Regions from separate parts of the Homo sapiens genome. Here regions 1, 3 and 4 are each linked to region 2. Evidence: promoter capture Hi-C in human tissues and cell types (Jung and others, 2019). All regions are on one chromosome and are shown on one strand. Each heading gives the region's core, a stretch centred on a gene start or on the middle of the fragment in contact. The rest is flanking DNA. Distances are from core to core; before and after follow the strand shown.

Region 1 (2,801 bases), core at 102-2,601, 390 kb before region 2:
GCAGTGGCACGATCCCGGCTCACTGCAAGCTCCGCCTCCCAGATTCAAGCAATTTTCCTGCCTCAGCCTCCCAAGAAGCTGGGATTACAGGCTCCCACCACCATGCCCGTCTCATTTTTGTATTTTTAGTAGGGACGAGATTTCACCATGTTGGCCAGGTTGGTCTCGAACTCCTGACCTCAGGTGATCTGCCCGCCTCGGCCTCCCAAAGTGCTGGCATTACAGGTGTGAGCCACCATGCCCGGCCGACTCTCCATTTCTAGAAAGGTTTCTCTATAGCATATGATGCTGTTTGACATCGTTCTACCCACAGTAGAACTTCTTTCAAAATTGAAGTCAATGCTGGCCTGGAGCGGTGGCTCACGCCTGTAATCACAGCACTTTGGGAGGCTGAGGCGGGTGGATCACCTGAGGTCAGGAGTTCGAGACCAGCCTGGCCAACATGGTGAAACCCCATCTCTTCCAAAAATAGAAAAAAATTAACTGGGCGTGGTGGCGTGCACCTGTAGTCCCAGCTACTGGGGAGGCTGAGGTGGGAGAACCTCTTGGACCCAGGAGGTGGAGGTTGCAGTGAGCCAAGATCATGCCACTGCACTGCACTCCAGCCTGGGCGACAGAGCAAGACTCCATCTCAAAAAAAAAAAAAAAGAAAGAAAGAAATGGAGTCAATCCTCTCAAACTGCTGCTGCTTTATCAACTAAGTATATGTAATATCCTAAATCTTTGTTGCCATTTCAGCAATGTTCACAGCCTCTTCACCGGGAGTAGATTCCATCTCAAGAAACCACTTTCCTTGCTCATCCATAGAAGCAACTCATCTGTTCAAATGTTATCATGAGATGGCAGCAATTCAGTCCCATCTTCAGGCTCCACTTTTTTTTTTTTTTTTTTTTTTTTTGTAGAGACGAGGTCTTGCTATGTTACCCAGGTTGGTTTGGAACTTCTGAGCTCAAGTTATCCTCCTGCCCTGGCCTCCCAAATTGCTGGGATTGCAGGTGTGAGCCAGTGGGCCTGGCCTCAGGGTCCACTTCTAATTCTAGTTCTTTTGCTATTTCTACATCTGCAGTTTTTTCCTCCACTGAAGTGTGTCTTCAGCCCCTCAAAGTCACCCATGAAGGTTGTAATCAACTTCTTTCAAACTCCTGCTAATGTTAATTTTTTGAGATGGAGCCTTGCTTTTGTCACCCAGGCTGGAGTGCAATGGCATGATCTCGGCTCACTGCAACCTCCGCCTCCCGGGTTCAAGCGATTCTCCTGCCTCAGCCTCCCAAATAGCTGGGGTTACAGGAAAGCGCCACCATGCCCGGCTAATTTTGTATTTTTAGTAGAGATGTGGTTTCACCATGTTGGTCAGGCTGGTCTCGAACTCCTGTCCTCAAGTGATCCACCCGCTTCATCCTCCCAAAGTGCTGGAGTTACAGGTGTGAGCCGCTGCACTCGGCCTAATTTTTAAATTTTTTTAATACAGATGGGTTCTCACTTTGTTATTCAGGCTGCTCTTGGCCTCCTGGGCTCAAGCGATCTTCTTGCCTCAGCCTCCCAAAGTGCTGGAATTATAGGTGTCAGCCACCACTCCCGGCCTAATCATGAATATTCTTTTTTTGTTTTTTGAGAGAGTCTCACTCTGTCACCCAGGCTGAAGTGCATTGGCACGATCTCGGCTCACTGCAACCTCTGCCTCCCGGATTCAAGCGATTCTCATGTCTCAGCCTCCCGAGTAGCTGGGACTACAGGTGCGTGCCACCATACCTGACTAAGTTTTGTATTTATTTATTTATTTATTTATTTATTTATTTATTTATTTATTTTTAGTGGAGATGGAGTTTCACCATGTTGGCCAGCTTGGTCTCAAACTCCTGACCTCAGTTTATCCACCTGCCTCAGCCTCCCAAAGTGCTGGGATTATAGGCATGAGCCACCACGTCCGGCCCTAATCATGAATATTCTTAATGGCATCTAGAATGATGAATGCTTTCTAAGTTTTCAGTTTACCCAGATCCATCAGCGGAATCACTATGGCAGCTCTAGCCTTACAAAATGTATTTCTTAAAAAAGACTTGAAAGTTGAAATTACTTCTTCATCCATGGGCTGCAGAATGGATGTGTTAGCAGGAATGAAAACAATATTATTTCCCTGGTATCCCTCCATCAGAGCCCTTGGGTAATCAGGTGCATCGTCAATCAGCAGTAATAACTTTAAAAAATATTTTTTTTGGCTGAGTGCGGTGGCTCATGCCTGTAATCCCAGCTACTCAGGAGGCTGAGGCAGGAGAATCGCTTGAACCTAGAAGCAGAGGTTGCAGTGAGCTGAGATCATGCCACGGCACTCCAGCCTGGCCGACAGAGCCGACGAAGGAGTTGGTCTCAACAGTGGCTTAAAATGTTCGGTAAACCATGCTGGGAACAGATGGGCTGTCATCCAGGCTTTGTTGTTCCATCCACAGAGCACAGGCAGAATAGATTTAGCATCATTCTTAAGAGCCCTGGGATTTTCGGAATGGTAAATGAGCATTGGCTTCAACTTAAAGTCGCCAGCTGCATTAGCCCTAACGAGAGTCAGCCTGTCCTTCGAAGCTTTGAAGCCAGGGATTGACTTCTCTTCTGTAGCTATGAAAGTCCCAGGTGGCATCTTCTTCCAATAGAAGGCTGTTTGTCTACATTGAAAGTCTGTTTTTGAGTGTAGCCACCTTCGTCAGTGAGATCAGCTAGATCTGATGGATAACTTACTGCAGCTTCTCCATCAGCACTTGCTGCTTCACTTTGCACTTTTATGTTACAGAGACGGCTTCTTTCTTTCAACC
Region 2 (2,700 bases), core at 141-2,640:
AAGGGTCTGTCTACACCAGGCTGTGATTACCTGCTCACATACATGTGTCTATCTGAGTAGGGGTATGTTATCTATTTTTCTACACCACAGGGTGAGGAACAGGTATATGTGTGCATGTGTATGCATCCGTGTGTGTGTGTATGTGTGTGTGCATGAGTGTGTGTGTGTGTGTCCAAAGCCACCTCTTCAACCTGTGCCATTTGTATCTGTGTCTGGCCCAATGAGAGTGTTGAAAGGTGAGCCACAAGATAAAACAGCAACTTCCTACCTCCCTTATCAAGACAGCTGTCTGACCTACCTCCCCTTGGCCACTCTTGGGATTACTGGGGTTGGCTTCAGTATTTTCAGATTTTTCAGAAGGGGAGGAGAATGCTTGAGTCTCATCCAGGAACTTAGGCAGTTCTCAGCACTGCCTGCTCCTCCTCCCTCAAATAACCAAGTCTGAAGACCAGGAGAGAAAGCCGCTGGTGGACTGGTCACCTGTCTGGCAGTGGGAGGAGGAGAGTGAGAGGTTTCTAGGTTAGGAATCCAGACTTAGACCCTCCCCTCCACCCCCAGATGGGTGGTGCACAGGCTCATCTCGCGGCCCCTCCCCACTCCACCCTAACATGGATACGCCCCCAACAACCAAGGAAAGATCTCCCATCGGCTGACTCCACAGATACACACATGTCCCCACAGACACACACACGCCCATGCAGAGGCACAGACATCCAGGCACATCTTTCCCTTTCTCTGTCTTTCCCTTGGTTTGAATTTCGTTTAGCCACATATGTTGTGTGTGCGTGAGGGTGGGTGGGGGAGGGGCAGACAGGGATGAGGGATGGCATGGTGCCAACATCTACCTATGGGGCTCGGGCCAGGGACGCCCCTTACAGCCATCCTGGGAGGGGGTCTCAGCTGTCCCTTTGTGGCCAAGGGGACCCTCCTGGGGAGTGGGGGCAAGCACAGAGGTCCTTTCTCCCCAACCCGGGGTCTGGTCCCTGACCCACCTTGGGGGCCTGCAGGGGAGGAAATGGACAGAGCGGGACCCTGAGGGAGCATAGAATTGGCCACCACGAGCCCCCAGTGTCCAGCCTTGCCACCCCATTGTTCCCGTGAGGGGGTCTCTATATACAGGGGGCAACTCCTCCCACCTTCCTCTCAATCCCTGCTTTCCCTGCGTTGGGCGGGGAGGGGAGGGCGGCAGAAATATTTATTTATTTCCTTTATTTATTTAATTTTTTTTTTTTTTTTTGGAGTAGAGAGTGACAGATGGCGGCGGGTCCCGGGGGAGCCGGCTCTCCCCCAGTGCAGACGCATGCCAATCACCGTCTCTCATGTGATAGCTGCTGCCCGTGACGTGCCAAGCCCATATGGCCTGGCATAGAGGCTGGTACCCCGCCTGGTAGAGATGCCACACTCGCTCCGCGGTTCGCATGGCGCTCTGAAGACGCCGGCGCCCGCCGCCTTGAGGAGCCGCTGCCCCCGCTCCCTGAAGATGGGGGAACAATGAAATAAGCGAGAAGATCCCTCTTCTCCCCCCTCTCTCTCTTGCCCCCTCCCCCCCTCCCCTCCCCTCTCCCCTTGACTCCTCTCCGAGGTAAGTTGTCCGAAAGGGAGCGAGATCTGACCCGCCGGTTGGGAGGAGGGGCGGCAGCTTCGGCCGACAGGAGGGTCCTCAAATACCTCCTTCCTGGGATGATGCCCCCCTCATTGGGTGGGCATCGGAGGGGCCCCAGGTTCTCTCTCCCTTAGGGGCTGCAGCCCAGGGGGCTGCAGAGGAGGTGTCTCTGCCTGCGATGGGCTCGGTGGGGGGGGAAGGCAGGATCACGGAGGGGGATATGCGAAGAGGCCGAGACGGAGGACCCCTCCATGGTTGTCCCAAAAAGCCTGCCACCTTTCCCCACCACCGAAAAAAGGGAAGCAAACAAACAAATTTGGATTTTTCCCCCATCAATCCCAAAATACAACGAGATCTGAAGAGCCTTGTGGGAGGGAGTCAGCTTGAAGGGGGAAGGGGGTCCCTGACCGCAGAGGGGACGGACTGGGCTCGCTTCTCTCAGTCTCCTCCCCACGCCCCGCTGCTTCAGTCCTCGCCGCCCAGAGCCGGCTCCGGGAGCTGGGGACGCATCGGCTAGAGGAGACGATCCTCCCGCCTCTGGAATTGGGGGTGCGGGGGTGGGGGCCGAGCAAGGGGCGGCGCGCAGCCAAGTTGCAAATTGGATTAGGGAGCGTGGGGGTGAGAGCCACGGGAGGGGTGAGGGAGCTGGGCCGGGGGGCCCGGGCCGCGAGAGCGCGGAGCGGGGCAGCTGTCCCCACCGGCGGCCGACCAGCCTCTCTCCACCGCCAGGAGAGAACGGGCTTTCAGGGCGAGCGCGCCGCCTCCCCTGGCAAAGATATCTGGTCCCTAAAACCCCCACCCGGTCCCTGCCCTGACCCTGAGAAGAAGCAGGCGCGGGGAGCAGCCCCCCATTCAAGCGAGGGGCGGAGCCGGGGCCCAGCGCCGGGGAGAGGGCCTGGGCCGAGATCCCAGGCCGGCAGCCGGGTAGGGCTGGGCCGGCTCTGGGCGGGGCAGGCGGCGGAGGTGGGCATCCAGGGTAGCCTAGGCAGGAGCCCGCACGAGACTCGGGGGTGGAGGAGGGTTGTGGGGGGGCGTCGGTACCCCAGCGCGCCCCTCACTTTGTGCTGTCTGTCTCCCCTTCCCGCCCGCGGGGCGCC
Region 3 (2,755 bases), core at 256-2,755, 320 kb before region 2:
GTGAAAAGAACAACACTGGGTTTGCTTATGTCTGCAGAAAGATGACTATAAGGAAAGGCACCTCCACAAACCAGGAGAAACTTCCACAGGACATAGGCAGAGCTATTTCAGACTCAGATGATTATTTCGATCTTGGAATGAGCCCTTTTGGGGCCATTGGCCCTGGAAATATTGAAGAAGCTGCCTGTTCTGCTCTGGGTGGTTCAAATACCCACCTGCCTGGTGACCACTAAGTGCCTCTGGGGGTCCCACTCCAGCTGTGTGACAACTGTTTCCTGGCAGCCCCCTGGGGAAGGAAAGGTAGGTGTAGTCCGAGTAAAGTGCTCCGCAGTTTCCCTGGGCTAGCCTTTTCCTTCCTGTTCCCTCACTTTCAGTTCAGGGTGCCATGAACTGCCATTCAGAGTCAGGTTGGCATGCCATGACATCATCTGACCTTGCTATTCCAGCCCTGCCCTGCATAGAGTGGACTTAGAAAGAAGCTGGGTAAGGAGTTGAAACTACCCAGACAAGACCTCTTGGTGACATGGAGAATGGGAGTAACCGAGGAGACCTCAAGAGCCATTTAGTTCAACCTCCTACAGTAATATTAAGTAGATTCCTACAATGCAACAGGTGCTTTACATACATTCTTTTGGGTTCCCACAACCTTGGAGGTGGGGTTTCACAGGTGTGGAATTGGAGATTAAGACAAGTAATTTGCCCAGGGTCACACTGCCAATAAAGGAGGGCCTACCCCATGTCTACCAGGCAGTAAAGTCTGTGCCCTTGCCTTTAGACGATGCAGATGTGAAAACTGCAGACCAGAGCCTCTCATTCAAAGCCACACAAGCTGACCTGAGACAGAAACTCAGGCTCCTTACTACTGATGGAGGAATCTATGATACGTAGCCTCTTCTCACGTCAGGTGCGGGGCGGCCAAGGATGTGGCCCGGTCCGGGGCAGCCTGGGCCAAGCGTGACTGAGAAGGAGAAGGCAGGCTCCGTTCCGGGCCCTCCAGACCCTCATCCCAGCCAATGTTGTGAAAAGCGCTCTCCCAGGAGGGCCCAGCAGGGCAAAGGGCCGGGCTAGTCTGTTTCTGGAGGAGCCAATCTGGGGCCAGGGCGGAGGCAGCCAGGTGCAGTGGAAAAATCCTGCAGTTGGGGTCAGAATATTTGGGTTTCGATCCAGTCTAGGACCCAGCAAAGACCTACAGAAAGTTACTTACAAGTCCGAGTCTCCTCATCTGCAAAACTGGGGCACGGATAAAATACACTTGAAGGGCACAGAAGCAAAAGTTGGAATTGTTACGCACCAAAATTCTATCATCCGATCTGACCATCACGTCACGGTACAACTTCCAACCGTGCGTCCCCGAAGAGGCCGGGAACGGAGCCCAGGAAAAACTACAACTCCCAGGAGGCGTCGGGAGGGCCGGCCCGGAGCCAGCGGAAGAAACTACAACTCCCAGAAGGCGTCGGGCGTGCCGGCGCGGGGCGGTGACGTACGGGGACCGGCGCGGAGCGCTGATTCGGCCGGAGCTGCCAGCGGGGAGGCTGCAGCCGCGGGTTGTTACAGCTGCTGGAGCAGCAGCGGCCCCCGCTCCCGGGAACCGTTCCCGGGCCGTTGATCTTCGGCCCCACACGGTGAGCCCGGAAGGAACCAAGAGGCCCCAGGGCTACGGGAGGGGCGGGAGAGAAGGTGGGGGCTGCTGGGGAGGCGCCCCGGGCTGGAGAGACGGGGGCAGAGGGAGTGGGGGGTGGAGGGAGTGCATCAGCCGAGGGGGTGCATCGGCTGGGGAGGTGGCCAAGGAATAAAGTGCGAGCGGGAGGCCGGGGGTGGAACGTCGGGAGGAGCGCCTCGGCTAGGGGTGGGAGGCGGGGAGCGGCTCGGCTTCGGGGATAAACGTTTGGCTGCCTCCAGGGCTGGGTGAACGCGTGGAGATGGCTGTGGGGTCCCGGACCGGACCGGGTTCCGAGTGCGAAGACCCAGGCTGGGGAACAGAGCGGGACCCCTCCCCCCGGCCCCGCACCCGAGGTCTCACTCAGAAAACCCCAACAACAGTGAGGACTCCGCCTCTTCGCTCCTCCTCTCCTGTGCTTAGTGCGGGTTCGCCTGGGCACTCGCTTTCCGCTCCTACCGCCCTCCCCCAGTCGGGGTGGCTGGGCCAAAGTTGAGAGGTTATCAGCTGTGGTCCTGCAGCTTGGGGGGTGGGCGGAATGGACATGGCATTGTGACGTGCTGCCCCGGACTCCCCGTTGGGGTCCCCATCCAGGCCTGGATGTTTTGTGCTCCTCTTCCAGAAGACAGGAGGTTTGCTGTTGTGAGGGCTGCTCTTTCCTGGGGGAGGGAATGGGAAGGGCTCACCTGGTGGCTGCCCTGGTGGTGCTCAGCCTTGGCTTGAGTGTCTGGCATACTGGCTGGGCCCGGATATTTGTATGTGGAGCCAAGAGGGTGGGGCGGGAAGGAGGGGGAAAGAGCTACCAGCAAAAAAGTGGTTAACACAACAGAGTTGCTGCAGGCTCTGGTTTGAGGCAGGTTATGAAACCACATCAGGGCCCAGCACTAAGCAGCCACCTGCCAGCTATGGCAGCAGAAGTTTTCGGCTCAACTCCTGTAGACCTAGTCGACCTCTGCCAGCCTCTTCTCTCTGTTTCTCCCCATCTAGGGTAGGGGCCAGTTGGTTGTTTTACTAATGGAAGTGATATGTATCCATAGTCACACGAAAGTCTCAAGAGTGTTTCCTCATTGCCAGTCTTTTTGTTAGTTTATTGATCTC
Region 4 (2,728 bases), core at 196-2,695, 360 kb after region 2:
CCACCACCACGACCAGCTCATTTTTGTACTTTTAGTAGAGACAGGGTTTCACCGTGTTAGCCAGGATGGTCTTGATCTGCTGACCTCGTGATCCGCCCACCTCGGCCTCCCAAAGTGCTGGGATTACAGGCGTGAGCCGCCGTGCCCGGCCTGGCTATGGTTTTTTTGTATTTTTAGTAGAGATGGGATTTCACCATATTGGCCAGGCGGTCTTGACTCTTGACCTCAAGTGATCTGCCTGACTCAGCCTCCCAAAGTGCTGAAGATTACAGGCGTGAGCCACCAAGCCCGGGCTTATGCAAGAATTTTTAAGAGGGCACTTGTCTCTTAAAAATGACTTGTCTTCCACTTTGTGCATTTGGAAATCATCAAATATACTTTTCTGTATATTTGAAGATTTTCGTAATAAAACTTTAAGGGAGGGAGAATGGAAAAAAACAGTTAAGATATGACCTGATACCATTTGTCTTTTAAGAAAGCGTTTACTGTTTAATATAAAAGTGGTTTTCTGGGCCTGGTGCGGTAACTGAGATCGTGCCACTTCACCACTTCACTCCAGCCTGGGCAAAAGAGCGAAACTCCATCTCAGGAAAAAAAAAAAAAAAAAAAAGTGGTTTTCTGTATGGAAAAAGAGGACTAGATTCCTACCTGCAAGATACACAAAAATCAATTTCAGTTGGTTACTGACCTAAACGTGAAAAGCAAAACTGAGTCAAACCTTTTTTTTTTTCTTTTGGAGACCAACCCCGGGGCTCACTGCAACCTCTGCCTCCCGGGTTCAAGAGATTCTCCTGCCTCAGCCTCTCAAATAGCTGGGATTACAGGCACACACCACCATGCCCAGCTAATTTTGTATATTTTATAGAGACAGGGTTTCACCATGTTAGCTAGGCTGATCTCGAACTCCCGACCACTGGTGATCCGCCCACCTCAGCCTCCCAAAGTGCTGGAACTACAGGTGTAAGCCACCACGCCCGGCCAAAAAAGAGCCTCTTTTCTTTATAAATTAAAAAAAAAAAAAAGTAGGCCAGGCACGGTGGCTCACGCCTGTAACCCCAGCACTTTGGGAGGCTGAGGCAGGCGGATCACGATGTCAGGAGTTTGAGACCAGCCTGGCCAACGTGATGAAACTCATCTCTACCAAAAATGCAAAAATTAGCTGGGCGTGGTGGTGCAAGCATGTAATCCCAGCTATGCGGGAAGCTGAGGCAGGAGAATTGCTTGAATCCTAGAGGTGGAGGTTGCAGTGAGCCCAGATTGATTGCACCATTGCACTCTACCTCTGGGCATCAGAGCAAGACTCCCATCTCAAAAAAAAAAAAAAAATTAAATTTATGACTTTAGGGAAAGATTAATAAAATTTAAGGTAAAAAAAAAAAAAAAGTCAAGCACAGTGGTGCACACCTATAATCCCAGCTACTGAGAGTTTAGATGGAAGGATCACTTGACACCAAGAGTTCAAGACCAGTCTGGACAACAGAGACCTCATCTCTTAAAACTAAGGAAACAATATGTCTAAATTTTTTTTTCTAAAAGCCCCATAGCCTCAATTCTAGATAATAGCTATAGTATTTCCTAAATCTCTTAGAACTGAGTTTTTTAGTAGGTACAGTGATTTGAATATTGAATGGTCTTTTGGAGGCTTTAGTAATTAGTTTTGCCCAAACTAATTGTGAAAAAAAGATCCAGCTGGATTGATTTATTCCCTTGTTCCAGACCCCATCCTTTGCCCTAGTTTATAGTTTAAGCAGAAGACATTTCCCCTTGGGGACAATAAAGCCAAGAAAACTGAACACCACATTAAATGTTCAACACATTGGACAACACATTAAGTGTATATACCTTTTAAAAATTAACTTTTAATTTAAAAAGGGCTTAAAATTTTTAAATGAATTAACACTCTCAGTGATCACCAGCCAACACTGCTCATGGCAAAAGCTCTTTCCACATTGCCAGTTTTTTTTTTTTTTTTTTTGCCTCATAAACTTGGCCAGCTCAGAAGAACGAATGGGTAAGGAAGACTTCCAACAGCCATTGCTGCTGACCAGAAAGAAAAGTGAAGCTGGAGGCTACTTGCCTCCTCTCGGGGTGAGATGCAAGATACTTTGGCTCACCTGGAGCCTGTTGAGTCAGCCAAGTGTTTTAACAAGGTTTCTGGTGAAGACAAGCTATCAGTCTCTTGAGCAGTGGAGTTCCCCTGGCCTAGGTCAGAACCAAGTAGTAGCCATCTGGATTCTGCACCGAAAGCAGTAAAAAGGCACCAGCAGGACCAGTCAGGTCCTCACCCTCCAAGCAGCCTACAATGCGTCTGGCACACCCAAGTGTTTTTTTGTTTTATTTCTTTTTTTGAGGTGAAGTTTCGCTCGTCACCCAGGCTGGAGTGCAGTAGCACGATAGTTCACTGCAACCTCCACCTCCCGGGTTCCAGCGATTCTCCTGCCTCAGCCTCCCGAGGAGCTGGGATTACAAGTGCCCGCCACCACGCCTGGCTAATTTTTGTATTTTTAGTAGAGATGGGGTTCCACCATTTTGGCCAGGCTGGTCTTGAACTCCTGACCTCATGATCTGCCCACCTCGGCCTCCCAAAGTGCTGGGGTTACAGGTGTGAGCCACCACGCCCGGCCACACGTGTCTTAAAACCCGACTTCACATCTACCTCTTCCTACCCCCTTGTGTACATAAGCCAAGCTGACCAGCTCTGGCATGTGGAGGGGTGGAAGGCAAACAT

Evidence for each region. The method cuts DNA at HindIII sites, captures the fragments that hold promoters and counts their contacts. A contact is called where the count stands out against the background at its distance.
Region 1: a contact is called between a fragment that was not itself captured here and the fragment with the promoter of NEUROD2 in region 2, in 1 of the 25 tissues and cell types used here (lymphoblastoid cells).
Region 3: a contact is called between the fragment with the promoter of ORMDL3 here and the fragment with the promoter of NEUROD2 in region 2, in 3 of the 25 tissues and cell types used here (lymphoblastoid cells, spleen and thymus).
Region 4: a fragment that was not itself captured here is called in contact with the fragment with the promoter of NEUROD2 in region 2 in 1 of the 25 tissues and cell types used here (spleen).

What each region holds. Positions count from the first base shown.
Region 1 is chr17:40,000,519-40,003,319 of GRCh38, reverse strand. No RefSeq gene overlaps it. Among named protein-coding and RNA genes, the nearest start is that of PSMD3-AS1, 13 kb to the left of the region's middle. The HindIII fragment of the contact is 8,544 bases long and covers 1-2,801 here.
Region 2 is chr17:39,606,610-39,609,309 of GRCh38, reverse strand. NEUROD2 (neuronal differentiation 2) reads left to right here and starts at 1,390. Exons shown (of 2, transcript NM_006160.4): 1 at 1,390-1,582. The HindIII fragment of the contact is 16,482 bases long and covers 1-2,700 here.
Region 3 is chr17:39,926,351-39,929,105 of GRCh38, reverse strand. It overlaps ORMDL3 (ORMDL sphingolipid biosynthesis regulator 3), which reads left to right and starts at 1,505. Exons shown (of 4, transcript NM_139280.4): 1 at 1,505-1,622. LRRC3C (leucine rich repeat containing 3C) reads right to left here and starts at 1,374. Exons shown (of 4, transcript NM_001195545.2): 1 at 1,292-1,374. It overlaps LOC124903999 (a long non-coding RNA gene), which reads right to left and starts at 2,386. Exons shown (of 2, transcript XR_007065750.1): 1 at 2,344-2,386; 2 at 2,104-2,178. RefSeq lists enhancers at 1,029-1,640, 1,641-2,251. The HindIII fragment of the contact is 12,451 bases long and covers 1-2,755 here.
Region 4 is chr17:39,248,557-39,251,284 of GRCh38, reverse strand. No RefSeq gene overlaps it. Among named protein-coding and RNA genes, the nearest start is that of STAC2, 24 kb to the right of the region's middle. The HindIII fragment of the contact is 6,399 bases long and covers 1-2,728 here.